Regions from separate parts of the Homo sapiens genome. Here region 1 is linked to region 2. Evidence: promoter capture Hi-C in 16 types of primary human blood cells and fetal thymus (Javierre and others, 2016). All regions are on one chromosome and are shown on one strand. Each heading gives the region's core, a stretch centred on a gene start or on the middle of the fragment in contact. The rest is flanking DNA. Distances are from core to core; before and after follow the strand shown. Region 1 overlaps CYP4F11 (cytochrome P450 family 4 subfamily F member 11). Region 2 holds the start of SYDE1 (synapse defective Rho GTPase activating protein 1).

Region 1 (3,928 bases), core at 1,149-3,648, 810 kb before region 2:
GTTAAATCAATCCTTAGATATTTTGTTGCTATGGTGAAATGTATCTTTTATTCAGATAGAGGGAAATGTATAAATTCATTGGAAATACAGAGACTTTACGTCTCTTGTTAAAATTTAATTCAGATATTTTATATTATTATCATTATTATTAATATCTTATCTTTTATCTTTTTCCAGATGCTTCTTATTTTCCTGGAAAAAAAATCAACTCAATCTGGTTGCCATGTCTTATAATAGGACAATGTTTAGATTACTCAAGTATATAGTTTTTTTTAAAGGCTGTTAAAAGCTCTAGAAGAAACCATGGGAAAATTATTTTATAGCTTCAGAGTAGGGATAACCCTATTTTGATACAAGTCCCAGGAGCTACACAAGAAAAGACTGACATACTGTTAAATGAGAAAAGATATGGAATATGTGTATAGTATATGATGTACTCATATTTTTAAGATACTAAAAATTATCTCTAGAAAGATACATAAAAATAATAATAACTTAGGCAACCTGTGAGGAGAAGAAGCAGGTGACTTTGGGCCATAGGGGTAGAGGATGTTTTATAGTTTTTAAATTTAGAGCCACTTAAGTGTACAATGTATTAAAATTTTAAACAGCCACAGAAAAAGAAGAAAGATTAAGCAAACAATTCAGCTCCCTTACTGGGTCTTAAATGTTTATAAATGTTTTCCAGTGAAGTGTTCTGTTTTTCTAAGTATAAAATCACCGTCTGCCACCACCACATTTCAAATTGCATTCCTCTCTTTTTTATTCCCTTGTCTAATTGCATTTGCTACTATCGCTAATACAATGATGAATAAGAGCAAAACAGTGGATCTGGGTATTTTGTTTCTTATTCACTTGCATTTTGTGTTTGCTTTCTTACCATAAAGGATATTTACCTTTAGGCCAATATGTTAACCTTTTTAATAGCTGGCTTCAGAGTGTTGTGTTTTCCTCAGAATAATCTTTAAAAAATCGGCACCATTTTTTTCTGGTACTTTTCTAATTTTCTGCTTTTCTAATTTTTTTCTGCTTTTTAAATTCTCCAGTATTTCATCCATGTGGAATTTATTTTGTGATAGGGAGAAAAAGTCTCGCTTGGAAACAGAGAAGCTGGAGAATTGTGTCTTTGTTCCCTTGATAATGATTGGGGCTGGGGTGTTTTCTTAGGGACGACCTGGCCCAGCTGCCCTTCCTGACCATGTGCATTAAGGAGAGCCTGCGGTTGCATCCCCCAGTCCCGGTCATCTCCCGATGTTGCACGCAGGACTTTGTGCTCCCAGACGGCCGCGTCATCCCCAAAGGTGCTCACAGCCTCAGGGGGAGGAGCCTCCTGGGTAGCAAGAGGGGTCCCTCAGGCAGGGGGGCCTTGTCCTGACTGCCCTCTTCTCTCCCACAGGCATTGTCTGCCTCATCAATATTATCGGGATCCATTACAACCCAACTGTGTGGCCAGACCCTGAGGTAGTGCCTCCCTCACCCCACCCTTTTTGGAGTCCATTCCAAGGTTCCTAGAGGAGGTGACAGGGTTTTGACCAGGAAAATCCAACATCACCTCTCCTCAATGGAGACACATCTGCCAAAATGTCTCTCCAAGGCCGGGGGTCTTGGAGACAACTGGGAGACCCCACCCAACTGGGTGACCCCACCCAGCAAGCCTTCTTGGTCTCACCTGCAGGTCTACGACCCCTTCCGTTTCGACCAAGAGAACATCAAGGAGAGGTCACCTCTGGCTTTTATTCCCTTCTCGGCAGGGCCCAGGTAAGGATGGCCTGTGTCTGAGGCAGAGATGGCATGATGGGTGCAGGGGTCCAAAAAGGGGGAAGTTACAGATGGTCCCAGTTCCAGCTCTCCTTCCCTCCCTTCCTCAGGAGTTCATGGGCAACTGTTCACAGAATGGGTTTGGGAAGGTCCTAGAGGGGTCTGCGGTGTGCTCAGAGTCCCCTCCTTCATCTGTTTATCTGAACTGGGGGTAGGAGCCTGGGCCAGGTTTGGGGGATATGCAAGCACACATGGGAGTCCTGTGGACACTTATCCCCTCTTTCTGCCCCTCAAGCCTATGTGGGTGCGTTTGGGGTCCCAGGCCAGGTTCTAAGCATGATGGGGCCGGGATGGGGGTCATGGGCACAGTCAGATTCCCTCACTTTTGCCCCCAGAAACTGCATCGGGCAGGCGTTCGCCATGGCTGAGATGAAGGTGGTCCTGGCGCTCACCCTGCTGCACTTCCGCATCCTGCCGACCCACACTGAACCCCGCAGGAAACCCGAGCTGATATTGCGCGCAGAGGGTGGACTTTGGCTGCGGGTGGAGCCCCTGGGTGCGAACTCACAGTGACTGTCCTACCCACCCACCCACCTCTGTAGAGTCCCAGAAACAAAACTATGCTGACACCTCTGCTTGAGCCTCGTTGACAGCCAGCATGGGGCTCCTGGGGACTGGTGGGATCTAAGAAAGGGAGGTGAGTGGGTGGAGGCAGGGTGACGTCTCTGAACCCAAAACCCTGACGGCCTCTCTGGCTGAGCACAGGGCATCTAGGCCCTTAGTGGGTTCTCCCAGAGCCCAAGTAAAAACTTTATCCTGTGGGCAGTAGGGAGCCCTGGGAGGTGTTTGAGCAGGAGAGGGAACAGGATTAAGAATGGGTTTAAGGAGCAAGACTGAGACTCTGATTCAGCGAGAAACAACCATAGGGGCAGATCCCTTCATCTGTCCTGGGAATGTCCTCCCAAGACTGGAGTCCTCAGCTCAGAACAAAGGGAAAGGGGTGCAGCTTCCACCCTGGCAGGCTCTCAGAAATTTTTAGTTCCTTTTTCCACCAACTTCCCACCCCTGTTTCTCCCCCTCCCAGTGCGTTCTCTCTGTGACTCTCTTCCCTTACTTTCAGAGGCATAGGATCTGGAGCCAGACTGCTTGGGCTCAAGTCCTGGCTCTGCTGCGTGACTTGAGCAAGTTAATTCCTCTCTCTGTGCCTCGGTTCCCTCAACCATATAATGGAGACAACAGCATTACCTATATCAGGGTTTTCCTGAGGTCTCAATATAAGGGACTCAGAGCTGTGCCTGGCACACAATGAATGCTAAATATATGGAGCCATTATTATTTCCTGTCTCAGAAAGTCTGGCTGTTAAAGAATGTTGTCTTTCAAGATCGTTATTTCTACCACGACTTTAAAGGCTGTGTTTTGGAACTCAAAGGCAAAAATTCTAATATCTGTGCTCCTTGAACAACCTCTTCTCCTAGAGGGCTGTGCATATAAGATATGTATATATATATATATATTATATATATATATATATACACACACACACACACACACACACACATATATACATATACACACACACACACACACACACACACACACACACACATATATATATATATATATTTTTTTTTTTTTCCTGAGGATGGTGAAGGTACCTGACTGTGTGAGGTGGTAGGAGAATGAGAGAAACCTCAGTCAGTGTCTCAAAATAAAATCCTGCTACAAACATTGATCTCTTTTCATAGCCTAAGGGATGTTGCATCGCTAAACCCTGTTGACTTCTCTAATCTCTTCTGTAGCTGATCTCCTTCCCTTGCTACACTCGGTTACTCTGGCCTTGATTCTGATCTCCAAATACATTATATTTTTTATTTGGGACCATCGTATTGCCTTTGCACCTTTATCAAATATAAGTTGCCTATATTTATTTGGATCTATTTTTTGGGCTTTTAATATTCTGTTCCATTGACCTATTTCTCTTTTCTTTTACCAATACCGCAACATCTTGGTTACTGTAGCTTCACGGTAAGTCTTAAAACTTGGATATTGTCAGTCCTCCAACTATGTTCTACTCCTTCAATATTGTGTTGGTTATTCTGAGTCTTTTGTCTCTCCATATAAATTGTAGAATTAGATTGCTGATATCCATAAAAAAACTTTCTGGAGGGC
Region 2 (4,358 bases), core at 802-3,301:
GGGATGTGGAGCTGGTGCTCACCTTGGGGAAGGGGATGGGAAGCTTGTTCTTACCTTGGGGGGCCAGGCCCTCTGACTCAGCTGAGCCAGGCTGTGGCCCCGGGGGCTCAGGTGCTGGAGGTCTGGGGTCTTCCTCAGGGATGGGGTTGTACCAGATCTCGCCGGCGGGCTCCCCAGTGCCAGGTACCCCAGGCCCTAAAGAGGTGTCCTCAGCTGGCTTGGCCCCACCCAGCACCCATCGGCGGCTACTGGGCTCCAGGCTTTGCAGGTAGGCTCCCCGTGCAGGGCTCCTTGATGCCTCGGGGCTGGAGGGCCCCTCTGCTCCGGCCTGGGACCCTTCGGGAGCCTGGGGCTCTGGCTCTGGAGGGCTGGGCTCTGGGCGCTGGGCTGGGTGGCCTGGCAGAGAGCAAGGGGAGTGAGACCCACCCAGCCCCTCACTGCCTGCAGAGCAGCCCTGTGCAATTGATCAGTGGGTGGGATGCTGTGTACGGCCCTGGCCGGCCCCTGATAAGTCATGGTTCCTTGGATCCTGCTGTTTTGTTTGGAATAGGCAGCCACAGGCTAGCGATCTCAGTTATCAGCTTAGAGCACCCCCTACTCAGTCCCTGGCATCCCAAAAGGGGACTCCATCCCTGCAGCCTCAGGGTTCTAAGTCAGGCTTCCTGGGGCCCGTAGGTACTGCGTTCCAGTCTCCACTTCCTCTACCCTCTCAATAACCGTGGCATGGAGCTTTGCACCTGCGTGGCCTTGGGCAAGTCGCTTCCCTCTCTGAGGCTCAGTATCCTCCTGTGAAATGGGGGGATGTGATTTCCATGTCCAGGGAGGCTTCCAGGAGCCTTTTGGAAAAGTATACAGCCCACAGCAGGCACTACGTGCTCAGGAGTGAGGAGCTGGGTTTTCTATTCCCTGCAGCACAGTCACTCCCAGTCCCCTGCCCCTTTTACCCTCCCTCCTGTCTTCCAAACTCTGTCGCCATCCTGGGATGGGCCCTTGTCCCTCAGCCCAGGCCAGACCCCCCACGCTCAATGCTTTGGGACTTCCCCTTCCCTCCCTCCTCTCCTGTCTCATGTCCTGGGCTGTTTCCTGTGTGTGTTTGTGTTTGGGCATCTCTGTCCCTTCTCCCTTCCCTGGGAACATTGGGAATCTTTGGGAAGGCCTGGGGGGAAGGGGTACGTCCATGGAATGGTCTGGCCTTCCTCCTTTAACTCCTTCCTTCCTGGGTCCCCCTATCCCACGCAGCTGTTTCTCTAAGGTTTTTACTTGCTACCCTGCTGAACTCCTCCTCTGGCCACCTCTGATGTCCACCCTCTAGGGTCTCTGTTTGTAGCATAGTCCAAAGAGCTGTTTAAGTCGATGGCCCTGGGCACATGACCCAATTGCTCCGTGCCTCAGTTTCCCCATCTGTATAAAAGGGACAGTTTCCTGGGGCTAAGGCAGGCGCAGTTGCCGTCACTGTTAGTAGGTGGGAGGCGGAGGGGGCAGCTACTCTGATTGACGGGCCGCCCCTCTCTTTCCTTTGCAGGAGTACGCCTCCCATCTCCCATCCTGCGCCTCCAGGGCTCCCGATGCCCCTTGCCCAGCCCGACTGGGCCCCAGTGTCCCGGCCTCCCAGCCCCTCCTCCCCTCCACCCTCCAGGCCCTCAGTCGCGGCCCCATTTCCTGTCGTGGGCGAGGCCCCCTCCCGGGCCTCCCAAGGAGCCCGCAGCGCTGGCATCCCCGGCCAGCAGCACATAACGGTCCGCGCCCCCCTCCCTCCCAGCCCCTTCCTTCCAGGACCCCTACCCTCCCCTGGCTGGAGGCACCCCAGTCTGCAGCGGGGTGCGGGGGGCTCCCCCTGATCCCCCCCACCGTCTGTCCTCGGGGCCCTGGGACCCCGCTCCCAGGCCGGGTGGGGCTCGGCGCCCCCTGTTCCCCACCGATCTCCGCTTACCGCGCTCCTTGGCGTCCGACTTTTTCCGGGGAAGTTTCTCCCGGCCCCGCAGGCGGGAGAAGGTTTTCCTGAGTAGCGGCTCGGCCATGCTGCGGCCCGGGCCGGGCCGAGCCGAGTGCGCGCCCCGGGCTCCGGCCGCGCCGCCCCGCGCCCTCCCCGCCCCGCCCGGGCCTCCCCGCCCGCCCCCCGCCCCGCGCCAGCAGGAAGCACATTCCGGGAATGCTTGGCCCAAACTTTTTTTTTTTTTCCCCTTTCCCGCGGCCCGAGCGGGCGATGCTGGGAGATGTAGTTGCCTGGGGCCGGGAGGGGTTGGAATGGGGGCTCCGGGTGCCCGGATCCGCTCCAGCTTCGATGGGACGTGACGATCGTGGCGCAGGCCCGATCCCTTGTCTTCCACCTCACCCACCCTCCCTGGATGGGACTCTGGGTGATGGCATCCAGGAAGTTCTCTTGGGTCTGTCTCCAAATCGCAGCCTCCACGTATCCTCTCTCTCCTTGCCAGGTACTGCTTCAACCTGGTGCAAGCCGTAGTGTCATTCGTTTCAATGACCGTCCCCACTACCCACCCCACCCCAAGCTTCTTCCTTGGTCTCCCCATGCCACTCTTTCCCCACTCAATTCTCTCACCTCCAAATTCCAATTACTACTGCTGTTTGACAAACCATCCCCAAACGTAATGATGTAAAACAACCATGTCGTGATTGTGAAAGGAAAATAAATCTTGAGACCTCCAAATCACTGAGCCAAAAGGAAGAAGTCAAACTGGTAACTGTGTAGGACAAACCTGCCTCCCATTCTATTCCTAAGTAAGATAGCTACAAGGTTAAAAAAGCTAGCTGGGCGCGGTGGCTCACTCCTGTAATCCTAGCACTTTGGGAGGCTGAGGCGACGGATCACTTGAGGTCAGGAGTTCGAAACCAGGCTGGCCAACATGGTGAAACTCCATCTCTACTAAAAATATGAAAAAGAAAAAAAATTGGCCAGGCATGGTGGGTGGGCACTGGTAATCCCAGCTATTTGGGAGGCTGAGGCAGGAAAATTGCTTGAACACGGGAGGTGGAGGTTGCAGTGAATCAAAATTGCACCACTGCACTCTAGCCTGGTCATCAGAGCAAGATGCCGTCTAAAAAAAAAGAAGAAAAGAAAAGAAAAAAAAAGCTACATACCTCCCCCACAATTTGCCTACAAGGAAATTCCTTATGGATGAAGGACAGGCAGAACTCAAAATTGTCCCTCTGCTCACATGAGACAAACACATATCTGATCGCTTCCTTACCTATTTGTTTCACTAAGCCAGACTAAGGCATAAGTGACTATCTCTGTAAATTGCATATTCAGAAAGGCTAGTCAGAAACTCGAAAGAATGCAATTGTTTCTCTCTTATCCACCTATAACCTGGAAGCCTTCTCCCTACTTTTGAGTTGTCCTGCCTTCCCAGACCAAACCCATGTGCATCTTACATATATTGATTGCTGTCTCATGTCTCCCTAAAATATATAAAACTAGACCAAGGTGGAGTGCAGTGGTACCACCACAGCTCACTGCAGTCTCAGCCTCTTGGGCTCAAGTGATGCTCCTGCCTCAGCCTCCCGAGCAAGTGGGACTATAGGCATGTGTCACCATACCTGGCTAATTTCCCTACTTTTTGTAGAGATAGAGTCTCATCATGTTGCCCAGACTGGTCTCAAACTCCTGGGCTCGGCTGGGTGCGGTGGCTCACGCCTCTAATCCCAGCACTGTGGGAGGCCAAGGCGGGCGGATCACCTGAGGTTGGGAGTTCGAGACCAGCCTGACCAACATGGGGAAACCCCTTCTCTACTAAAAACACAAAATTAGCTGGGGGTGGTGGTGCATGCCTATAATCCCAGCTACTCGGGAGGCTGAGGCAGGAGAATCTCTTGAACCCGGGAGGCGGAGGTTGCAGGGAGCCAATATTGTGTCACTGCATTCCAGCCTGGGCAACAAGAGTGAAACTCCGTCTCAAAAAAACAAAACAAAAAAACAAAACAAAACAAAAAACCCTCCTGGTCTCAAGTGATCTGCCCGCCTTGGCCTACCAAGTAGCTAGGATTACAGACCTGAATCAAGGTAGTGGCCCTGACTACCCTAGTTTATGTTGTCAGGAGCTTCTAAGTCTGTGTCACAGGCATGTCCATAACCTTGGCAAAATAAGCTTTCTAAATTTATTGAGACTTATCTGAGATACCTTTTGGTTTACATGATGCTCACAGATGCTGTGGTTCAGTTTGGACAGGGGAGACTTAGGCTAGAGGGTGACTAAAAAATGGCAGGGTCCTGAGTCATCTGGAGGTGTCTTCACTCAGAGGTCTTGCAACTGACGCCAGCTGTTGCTGGGGCTGTGGACCAGGGTAGCTACACAGGCCTCTCCGTGTGGTTCGGGTTTCCTTCCAGCATGGTGGTCTTGGGG

The links. Contacts are between HindIII fragments. The CHiCAGO score rates a contact against its expected background, and 5 or more counts as called.
Region 1: a fragment that was not itself captured here is called in contact with the fragment with the promoter of SYDE1 in region 2 in 1 of 17 cell types (neutrophils); the score reaches 5.4 in neutrophils.

Annotation. Positions count from the first base shown.
Region 1 is chr19:15,912,135-15,916,062 of GRCh38, reverse strand. CYP4F11 (cytochrome P450 family 4 subfamily F member 11) reads left to right here. Exons shown (of 12, transcript NM_021187.4): 9 at 1,168-1,301; 10 at 1,397-1,461; 11 at 1,676-1,758; 12 at 2,154-3,686. The coding sequence ends at 2,331. Among named protein-coding and RNA genes, the nearest start is that of CYP4F2, 16 kb to the right of the region's middle. The HindIII fragment of the contact is 4,888 bases long and covers 1-3,928 here.
Region 2 is chr19:15,105,094-15,109,451 of GRCh38, reverse strand. SYDE1 (synapse defective Rho GTPase activating protein 1) reads right to left here and starts at 2,051. Exons shown (of 8, transcript NM_033025.6): 1 at 1,931-2,051; 2 at 55-396. The coding sequence starts at 2,018. RefSeq lists an enhancer at 1-365. The HindIII fragment of the contact is 2,464 bases long and covers 46-2,509 here.